2 separate regions of the Homo sapiens genome follow, and region 1 is linked to region 2. Evidence: promoter capture Hi-C in human tissues and cell types (Jung and others, 2019). All regions are on one chromosome and are shown on one strand. The core of a region is centred on a gene start or on the middle of the fragment in contact, and the rest is flanking DNA. Distances in the headings are between cores, read along the strand shown.

Evidence for each region. Contacts are between HindIII fragments. The study calls those that stand out against the background at their distance.
Region 1: a fragment that was not itself captured here is called in contact with the fragment with the promoter of CES4A in region 2 in 5 of the 25 tissues and cell types used here (aorta, dorsolateral prefrontal cortex, lymphoblastoid cells and 2 more).

The regions. Positions count from the first base shown.
Region 1 is chr16:67,086,430-67,091,219 of GRCh38, reverse strand. All of the region lies in intron 5 of CBFB (core-binding factor subunit beta), which reads right to left. Among named protein-coding and RNA genes, the nearest start is that of PHAF1, 21 kb to the left of the region's middle. The HindIII fragment of the contact is 5,567 bases long and covers 1-4,659 here.
Region 2 is chr16:66,986,905-66,991,941 of GRCh38, reverse strand. It overlaps CES4A (carboxylesterase 4A), which reads right to left and starts at 3,353. Exons shown (of 14, transcript NM_001364782.1): 1 at 3,112-3,353. The coding sequence starts at 3,169. RefSeq lists a silencer at 22-316. The HindIII fragment of the contact is 42,626 bases long and covers 1-5,037 here.

The DNA.
Region 1 (4,790 bases), core at 627-3,126, 100 kb before region 2:
GCTCCTCTGATAGAGAACCAAGACTCTCTTCCTCTGGTAGTGGGGGAAGTCAGATTTCGTATCCTTTTCCTCCTTCATTAATCTTCTTCCGATTCTCATTCTCAGTCTGAGTTCATACTCCCAGTTCATTCTCATCTACTGCCATTACCCAAAACACAACCCAGGAAGGCCTAGCACAGACATATTCTCATGCTGATTTATCCATACACAAGAAAGAATATTGGTAGAGTTAAATAATTTGAAAACTGAAGTCTTCGGAAATTTAAAATAAATAGAGGCTGAGATTTTTTTCTTGGACCACACAGAATTGAAGGCCCCAAAACTATGCAAAATACAAATACAAAAACCACATAAAACTTTTTGCCTGTTTTTATTTCCAAATAGTTTCCACATAAAATTCTATGATTTGAATTGTATTAAAATTGCTCATAGTAGGATAAACAATAATTTACCCATTCTCTGACATTAAAGACAACCATTTATTTGCTGCCACTTTATAATCTAACCAAATGTAGGCATTTTTAAGATAATAGAGAAAATATCTTTAAGCACCCTGTCACCTTGGAGCTGAGTTAAAAGCCAAGAGTGCTATATTACAGTTTTAGGTCAAAAGGCCAATCAAGTTGAAGGCAGTCTCTGGAAACAGAGACTAGTGTACAAGTTGCTATCTTTCTAACTCAACTATGATCAGAGCATGAAATCTGTCCTTTATTAACCTCCATCTTCCTTCACAAAAGACATTTGAATTAGTTATAGACATATATACCCCAAAAAGAAAGGTCATGGGAAACATGTCAACATTTTCAGATCAAGGAAGGATTCTCAGACAGAAAAGGTGCTAGGATGCTTCTATATAGCAACAGATGCCAATGGAGAGCATTTCACAAAAGTAACGTCTGTGATTATTTTTTATTTTTAAAAGCCTTCTTTTTATACAAGTACAGAATAGTGCCCAAATTGTTAAGTATGTAATGAAGAATTTTCACAAAGCGAACACACCCACCTAACTAGCACCCAGGTCAAGAACTAACATTACCAGAACATGGGAAGTTCTCTTCATACCCACTTCTAGTCACTACTCAATCCCCACAGTAACTGGTAGCCTCCAACAGAGCCAAGAAAAGTCCAAAATCCTTTACTGGTTGTTTTAAAAAACCAAACCAACCAACCAAACAAAAAACACCAGAATCTAAAATGGCTTGGCAAAATAGTATCTTCGACTTTCATAGTCTAAAGTTAGGATATGACTACTTTTACTGTTTTCCTGCCACTCCAGATATATTGTGAGCCAAGTACACAGAAAGAAGGGGTAAAGAAACTGGCTTCCACTGAGTCCCCATTCTAAGCCTCAGATACTGAGCTCTGCAACAACCTGGGAGGGAGTTTTTACTGATGAGGCTCAATGAGAATAAGCAACTTTCTCAATGCTATATGGCAACAAGTAGTGGAGCCGGGATGCAAAACCTTGTGCTCATTCCACTACATCCAGAGTCCTCATTATGTTCTGCCACCCACTGGGTTCCGTAAAAACACCCCCAGGGACACCAGAGGGAGACCAGAACAATCCCTACCCTGGCTTTGCCCAGAGCAGTGCCTTTTAAAAAAACTGTTTTATACAGTGGGGCTCTGTATACAATTTCAAATGGAGGAAGGGTTTCACATAAAAAACAGCCTATATGCCAGAGAATAGAGATAGCAAGGTCTAGAATCTTCTGTTTTCATTATTCTGTGTAATACTGAAAGCAAATTTTATTTTTTTCTAAATAATTAATGATACAAAATTCATAAGGTACAGAAGATACACAGTGAAAAATAATAATTTGCTTATTTTGTCCCCCAGGTACCTGGTTCTCCCCCATAGTTTCTAGTTCCAGTTTCTTAGATATTCTACTAGAGAATGACTATGCACATTTAAACAAAAATTACCCACAGAGTAGGAAAAATACCCAGAGAGTAAGATATTATACACAGTACTGTGTACCTTATGTATATCATTTTAATGTATATCAATGACAAGAGTATTTGGTAAAGGTTACTAACATAAACAATGCTTCTTCATTTCACTATAGTTTCTCATTTCAAGTTAATGATAATCTGCCATTACCTCTGAAAGGTAAAGAAAATATTGTACTACTGAAATAGGCTGTTCCAGAAAAATGAGAAAAAGAAAACACTAAATCCTATCATGAAGGATCGAAAACTTTCTAAATTTTACACATGGTGAAATGGAAGAATGCTCAAGGAATTTTATAACTAGTTTCAGGTTAAAAGACACTGTTGAAAATCAAAACCCCTTGGGCCACCAACCACTTGGAGTTCTGCTTCCCCCCTTAGTAATCTTAACCTTACACATAGATTAAATACTCACGAGCACCACTGTTACAAGTTTAGCATGGCAGGGCTGGAGGCCTCAGAAGTTATCCAAACAGTGGAGGACATCCCTAAACCTCTGTGCTGCTAGGATCTCAAGCTTCCACAGGCCGTTTACTGACTTGCTGCCACCCATGAGTTACCACTGTTCTCTGGCCCTCCTCTCCAGTCAGGCATCAGGACCACCCACTAGAACCATTATTTTTCTTTTCTGCCTCAGCCTTTTCTATTCCAGGCAAAACGGTTCTTAATCTCTCCTGGCAGATTTTATTTTTCAGCTTAAGCATCTTTACGGGTGGTGTGGAAATTAATTTCCCAGCGCTAAGCTGTATTTGTGCAGGCCTCCTGGTTAGGAAACTGGTTTAAATACTCACTGTTTCTTCCATTAACCAAATATTTGAGGGAGAGCAAGTCAATTAATTTTTTGGAGACTCTCAGTTTTATCAACTGTAATAATGTTAGATTAGATGATGTTTGAATCTCTAAAGATAATCTGAATCACAGAGGGGAAACAACATTTTTCTCCAATATTCTCTTTTTAGGAAAAAGAAGGTAAACTGCAAGAAAATAAGGTGACATTAGGAATTTTTTATGGATGGAAAAAAAAGACAAAGAAGCAAAATATATACACGCTAAGTGCCAAAAGACACACAAACCCCAAACTCCCCTATGTGATTGCCAGTGCATGTGCTGGAGTCAGATTCCAGCCCAATTTTCCAGATGACAGTTCTCTACAAGAACTGATGTTTTAAATTACTGCCATAAGGGACTACAGGATCTTAAATCATTGATGAAAATATAACTCTTTTCTCTATGCTCTAGGTCATAATGTAGGGAAAGTGCCTTGATACACTTCAGAGAACTAAAAGGATGTTCTTGTTAGCCAAATAATTCAATTAACTGGAACCAGCATTATGGTGGAGCTTTTAGTGCTAAAAAGAAGTACTTCAGAGCTATTATTTACTGTAGGCATACACATACCAAGCATCATACTAAGTGCTTTACAAGCATTTTCCCATTTAATACTCAAATTCTGTGAGAAAATTAGGGCTCTTGAGGCAAGTGACGGAGCAGGAATCTCAACTAGGCCTGACTACAAAGCCCATGCTCTCAATCACTGACAAAAAAACAAGTAGAAACAATCTATCTGAGCAACAAATTATGTGACACTTCTATCAACAGACTATATTTCTGTTCATATATACATATAAACTCACATACCAAAATATTCTTCCAACATTTTAAATTAGAAAAATCAAATTAACAATGTATTTATTTCTTTTTGTGGGGTCAGGGAGACAGGGTCTTGCTCTGTTGCCCAGGCTGGAGTGCAGTGTCACAATCATAGTTCACTACAGCCTTGACCTCCTGGGCTCAAGCGATCCTCCCACCTAGCCTCCCAAGTAGCTGGGAACACAGGCACATGCTACCATGCCTAGCTAGTTTTTAAATTTTTTGTAGAGACAAAGTCTTGCTGTGTTGCCCAGGCTGGTCTTGAACTCCTGGGCTCAAGCAATCCTCCCTCAGCCTCCCAAGGTGCTGAGATTAAAGGTGTGAGCCACCACAATTTAGAATAGAAAATTCTTAGTCAATTAATCTAGAGTTTTATGTAAAGCAAAATACATACAAAAGCTTTCAACAGTTGTTCCATTAATTGTCAAATAGTTAATCTCCAAATATAATGTAGCTGAAGAGCACTTTTTAGAAAATGATTCCTATATTCATTTAAAGCCATGTTAGCTTGCTCCAGAAATACTGACCAATCACACTCTCTTGACTTGGCAGGCTCTCTTACTCCTCCTTACTCCTCCATGCCTTTGCATACACTGTTTGTCCTGCCCAGAATGCTTTCTCCAACTTGAACAGCTGGCAAAACACACTCTTCCTTCAAATCCCTCTAAGTATACTACCCTGTGAATTTCCCAAGCAGAGGCAGACTTAAGCTTCCTCTACACTGCTGCTGTCCCTTTTGAACCTCCATTATGTATGGTGGTTGCTAAAGTACACTGCAATGATCTGTTTATCCATCATTTTCCCACAAGACTGACAGCTGATCAAAGACAGAAACAATGCATTTTCATCTATATATTTCTCAGTCCCTAATGCAGAATACAGACCAACACACTTGGGGTTTATTACTTTACTTAACTAGTTAATATAAACCAACACATTATAAATATTTAGAATCTTTCCAGAGACCATTAATATGTATTATCTACATGAACTATCATAGCAGGCTCTCCTATAATTCTAGTTTTCAGACAGGCAGGATAGGGGCTGTTTTTTGAAGATATCCAATGAACAACTAAGCAGTGTACAAAGGATTGTGGTAGGTAATGTGGAAGACACAAAAATCAGGGGCTCCATCTCATGGGATTGCCATAAAGTGGAGGGCACAAATGTTTATAATTGTTTCAACA
Region 2 (5,037 bases), core at 2,104-4,603:
AGACAGGGTCTCACTTTGTTACCCAGGCTGGTCTTGAACTCTTGGCCTCAAGTGATCCTCCCACTCTGGCCTCCCAAAGTTCTGGGAGTACAGGCATGCATGAGCCACCACGCCCAGCCTCACCTCATTTTTCTGAAAACCTTATAGGGCAAATGTTATTGTTACAAAACTATACAAATGTGGAAGCTGAAGCTCAAAGGGGTTATATAAGTTGGCCAAGGTCACACAGAAAAGTATCTTACATCAGAGCAGTGCCTTAAACCATGTTTTTCTGTCGGCTCCCTAGCCTCCAAGGGGCACCTAGCCATGTAGCAGAGTGCTCTAGACCCCTGAGCATGAGCTGCCATGGAGTGGTCCCCATCCCAGCTCTGCTACCCAGAGGCAGCATGTAAGCACCTATGAAAACAATATTCCACCTTACTGGTGGTCATAAAGTGCTAACTAAAACCAGGAGTTACAACTTAGACCTAATAAATTTAAAAGTGATGGCATCTAATTCTGGTGAAGATACAGTGAAAAGGACATTCACATATACTGTTGGTGGAGGATAAACTGATACAATGCCTTGGGAAAATAATTTGGCGAAATGTATACAAAGCCATGAAAAGTTCACTTGCCAGCTGGTGTGGTGGCTCACGCCTGTAATCCCAGCACTTTGGGAGGTCAAGGCAGGTGGATCACTGGAGGTCAGGAGTTCGAGACCAGCCTGGCCAACATGGTGAAACCCTGTCTCTACTAAAAATACAAAAATTAGCTGGGCGTGGTGGTGCGTGCCTGTAATCCCAGCTACTCGGGAGGCTGAGATAGGAGAATTGCTTGAACCCAGGAGGTGGAGGTTGCAGTGAGCCAAGATCGCATCACTGTGCTCCAGCCTGGGAGACAGAGTGAGACTCCATCTCAAAAACAAAACAACAACCAAAAAAGAAAAGAAAAGAAAAGAAAAGAAAAGTTCACATGCCTTCACTCAGTAATTCCACTTCTGGGTCTCTCCCCTGTGAAAATAGTCAGAAACACATGAAAACAAAGACCTTTCTGAACTAAATTTATCTATACCATAGTGAATACTGGAAGCATCATTTATATCTGGGGACCAAGCAAGGCCAATGTAACTACAGACTCAAACTTTAAACTGCTTTTGGTAATAACTTAAATTAAAAAAAAAAAGAAAAACCCCAGAATATAAAATTGTGTTTATTCATTCATTCTTTCTTTTCTTTTCTTTCCCTTATTTTTTTCTTTTTTTGAGACAAGGTCTCCCTCTGTTGCCCAGGCTGGAAGGCAGTGGCATGATCATAGCTCACTACAGCCTCCACCTCCCAAACTCAAGTGAGCCTCTCACTTCAGCCTCTCGAGCAGTTGGGACTGCAGGCATGCACCACACCATGCTTGGCTAATTTTTAAATTTTTTGTTCAGATGGGCTCTAGTTATGTTGCCCAGGCTGGTCTTGAACTCCTGAGCTTAAGCAATCCTCCCACATCAGACTCCCAAAATGCTGGGATTATAGACATGAGCCACCCCATTTGGCTTAAAATTGTGTACATTCTAATAGTACAGCTATAGATAAATACACAATGAAAAGGTGAAAAGAGGTTGGGCATGGTGGCTCATGCCTGCGGTCCCAGCACTTTGGGAGGCCGAGGCAGGTGGATCATCTCAGGTCAGAATTTCGAGACCTGCCTGGCCAGCATGGCGAAACCCCATCTCCACTAAAAAAATACAAAAATTAGCTGGGCTTGTGGTGTACGCCTGTAGTCCCAGCTACTTGGGAGGCTGAGGTGGGGAGAATTGCTTGAACCCGGGAGGTGGAGGTTGCGGTGAGCGGAGATGGCACCATTGCACACCAGTCTGGGTGACAGGGCGAGACTCCGTCTCAAAAAAAAAAAAAAAAAAAAAGAAAAGATGAAAAGAAAATGCGCCAAAATGTTAAAAGCGGAGTAAGCAAAGTTTCCTTCAAATTTAAAATAATGGATATATGTATATATGGGCAAAATTTATTTATGATAGAGGTCAGACTAGTGGTAACTTTGAGTATTGACTGAGAAGGAGTACATGGGACGCTGGAGATGGTTTTTTGTTTTTTTTTTTGAGATAGAGTTTCGCTCTTGTTGCCCAGGCTGGAGTGCAATGGCACGATCTCGGCTCACTACAACCTCTGCCTCCTGGCTTCAAGCGATTCTCCTGCCTCAGCCTCCTGAGTAGCTGGGATTACAGGCATGTGCCACCATGCCTGGCTAGTTTTGTATTTTTAGTAGAGACGGGGTAATAATATTGGTTAGGCTGGTCTCAAACTCCTGACCTCAGGTGATCTGCCCGCTTCGGCCTCCCAAAGTGCTGGGATTACAGGTGTATCCTTGTAAGTTAAAAAAACTTTTTAAAAAATGTTTTTTAAAAATAGAGACAGAGTCTATTTACCCAGGCTAGGTCTCACTATTTGCCCAGGCTGGTCTCAAACTCCTGGGCTCAAGTAATCCTCCCACCTCAGCCTCTCAAAGTGCTGGAATTACAGGCATGAGCTACCATGCCTAACCCACTGGAAATGTTCTAGATGTTGATCTGGATAATGGTTACCATATATATATATATAATAATTAGTATAATAGATATAATTATACAGTGAAGATGTGTGCACCTTGCTGTATACATCTTATACCTCAGTAAACTTTTGTTAATGTATTAGATTGTTTTCACAGTAAAAAGTGTAGTACTCATTTTAAAAAGAAAGATATTGGGGAGAAATTTGAAGGTGGTAAAGAGGTTCATGTAGCAGAGAGGGGGCAGAGACAGGCCTCCTGCTTAGGAGAAGGAAAGAAGGATGGAAGGAAGGAAAAAGGTGGGAAGGAAGAAAAGATGTGGCCATGTTCTCAGACCCCTTCACCTGTGCCGGGAGGCAGGAAATACAGAGAAGCCCTGAGGTTCAGGGAGGCTAAAGGACTTGTCCAGACTCCCAGCTGGTAGATGGTTTAGTGTCCTGAAACCCTACCCTCCATTTGCCCAGGCCTTGTCTAAGTGCTCCTGCCCTGCTGTCCCCAGGAGAGGTTGAACTGGGGCCTGTCCCTCCATCCCTTGTGCCCGTCTTGCCTGACACTCTCGGGAAGGGGTGGGGGTCTTACCCAAGGCCGTCTGCGCCATCAGGCAGAGGGTGAGGCTCCAGCACAGAATCCACCTCATGCTCCAGCCAGCTCCTGCTGTGGGCAGGAGTGATGGCAACACTGTGGATGGCAACACTGTGGATGGCATGGTAGCCGTGTCTACAGTGTGTGAGCACACTTTTATCTGCTCTTAATCCCTGCCAGCAAGTACTGGGGCGGGAGGAATTGTAACCAGCTTCTGACCAGCCCACAGCCTTGTCTCTGCCTTGGGCAACAGGTCACGCTAGATGATCTTGGCTCTTCAAACTGATCAGCCTGCAATCTCCGCCCCGTTTGCTCATCTGTGCAGTGGCTTAAAGCTGAACATGTGTGAGTCAAGGTCTAAGCATACAGTGGGTGCCAAGATTGAAGTAGAACACCTGGTTACTTGGCCCTTCAGCCAGGGCTTCCTGTCTGTGGATTTAAGGGTCTTGGGCCTCCCTGCTCCCCAGTGCCTCGTCTAGCCTCTTCCCTGCCTTTCCTCGCACATGCTGACCCTTGGCTGTCCTCACAGTTTCATAGTCCACATGCGGAAGCTGGACCTGAAAGCAACCGTAATGTGGGAGCCCAGAGGGGCACCCGAGGAGTGAGCCCAGAGCCGGGTGGTGGGAATGAAGATTCCCTGGAAAAGATCTAATCTTCTAAGTAAAGGATGAGGAGGAGTGGGCCAGGCAAAGAAAGATCCTGTTTGAAGTTTGGAGCCACAGGAGCAAGTGTGGGAGGTGGAAGCAAGGAGACAGCAGTCCCATCTTCAGTCAAAGGTAAGATGGGGCTGGGTGTGGTGGCTCATGCCTGTAATACCAGCACTTTGGAAGGCTGAGGCAGGTGGATCACCTGAGGTCAGGAGTTCGAGACCAGCCTGGCCAACATGGTGAAACCCCGTCTCTACTAAAACAAAGAATACAAAAATTAGCTGGGCGTGGTAGTGTGTGCCTGTAGTCCCAGCTACTCAGGAGGCTGAGGCAGGAGGATGGCTTGAACCTGGGAGGCGGAGGTTGTAGTGAGCCGAGATCGGGCCACTGCACTCCAGCCTGGGTGACAGAGTGAGACCCTGTCTCAAAAATAAATAGGCCAGGCACGGTGGCTCATGCCTGTAATCCCAACACTTTGGGAGGCTGAGGCAGGCGGGTCACGAGGTCAGAAGATCGAGACCATCCTGGCTAACACCCCGTCCCTACTAAAAATACAAAAAATTATCCGGGCGTGGTGGCACGCGCCCGTAGTTCCAGCTACTCAGGAGGCTGAGGCAAGAGAATTGCTTGAAACCAGGAGGCGGAGCTTGCAGTGAGCCAAGATGGCGTCACTGTACTCCAGCCTGGGCGACAGAGTGAGACTCCATCTCAAAGAACAAAAAAAAGGTAAGATGTTTCCTCTCTCGTGTACCCCCAAAGTCTGGGGTCCTGGCCCATCTTTGTGAAAAGAGGGTCTGTTGGGCTTCTGTGCTGGGGAGGGGAAAAGGCAGGGGAACAGAGAACTTCTCCCTTGGCCCACAGCCTCTTGCTCTATAGGCCTGACAGATGGTTAAACCTCCTTCTTTCACAGTCAATTTTCTGAGTTCTTCGGAGATGCTCTTTATTTGGGACTCCTCTCCCACAGTTCCCATCCTTGTGACCCTTCCTCAGTCCCAAGGAATGTGGCATTCACTGCCCAATCATTGCTGCCTGGGCTCTGTGCTCCTCTAATGAAGGCCCAAGATGACCCCCCACCCCTGCCTCTGCCACTTATCCTGTGGGGTCTACATGGGCAAACCTCCAATATCCCTTGCCCCACCTCAGCAGAGGTGTGGCCCATCCCATTGCAGCCCCTTCTGCCCCACTCACGATGGCGGGGTGGAGTCAGGCTCTGGCTGGCTGAGCCTCCTATGGTGGAAAGCACCACTCATCTTCCCCATGGTCTCATGCCCACAGG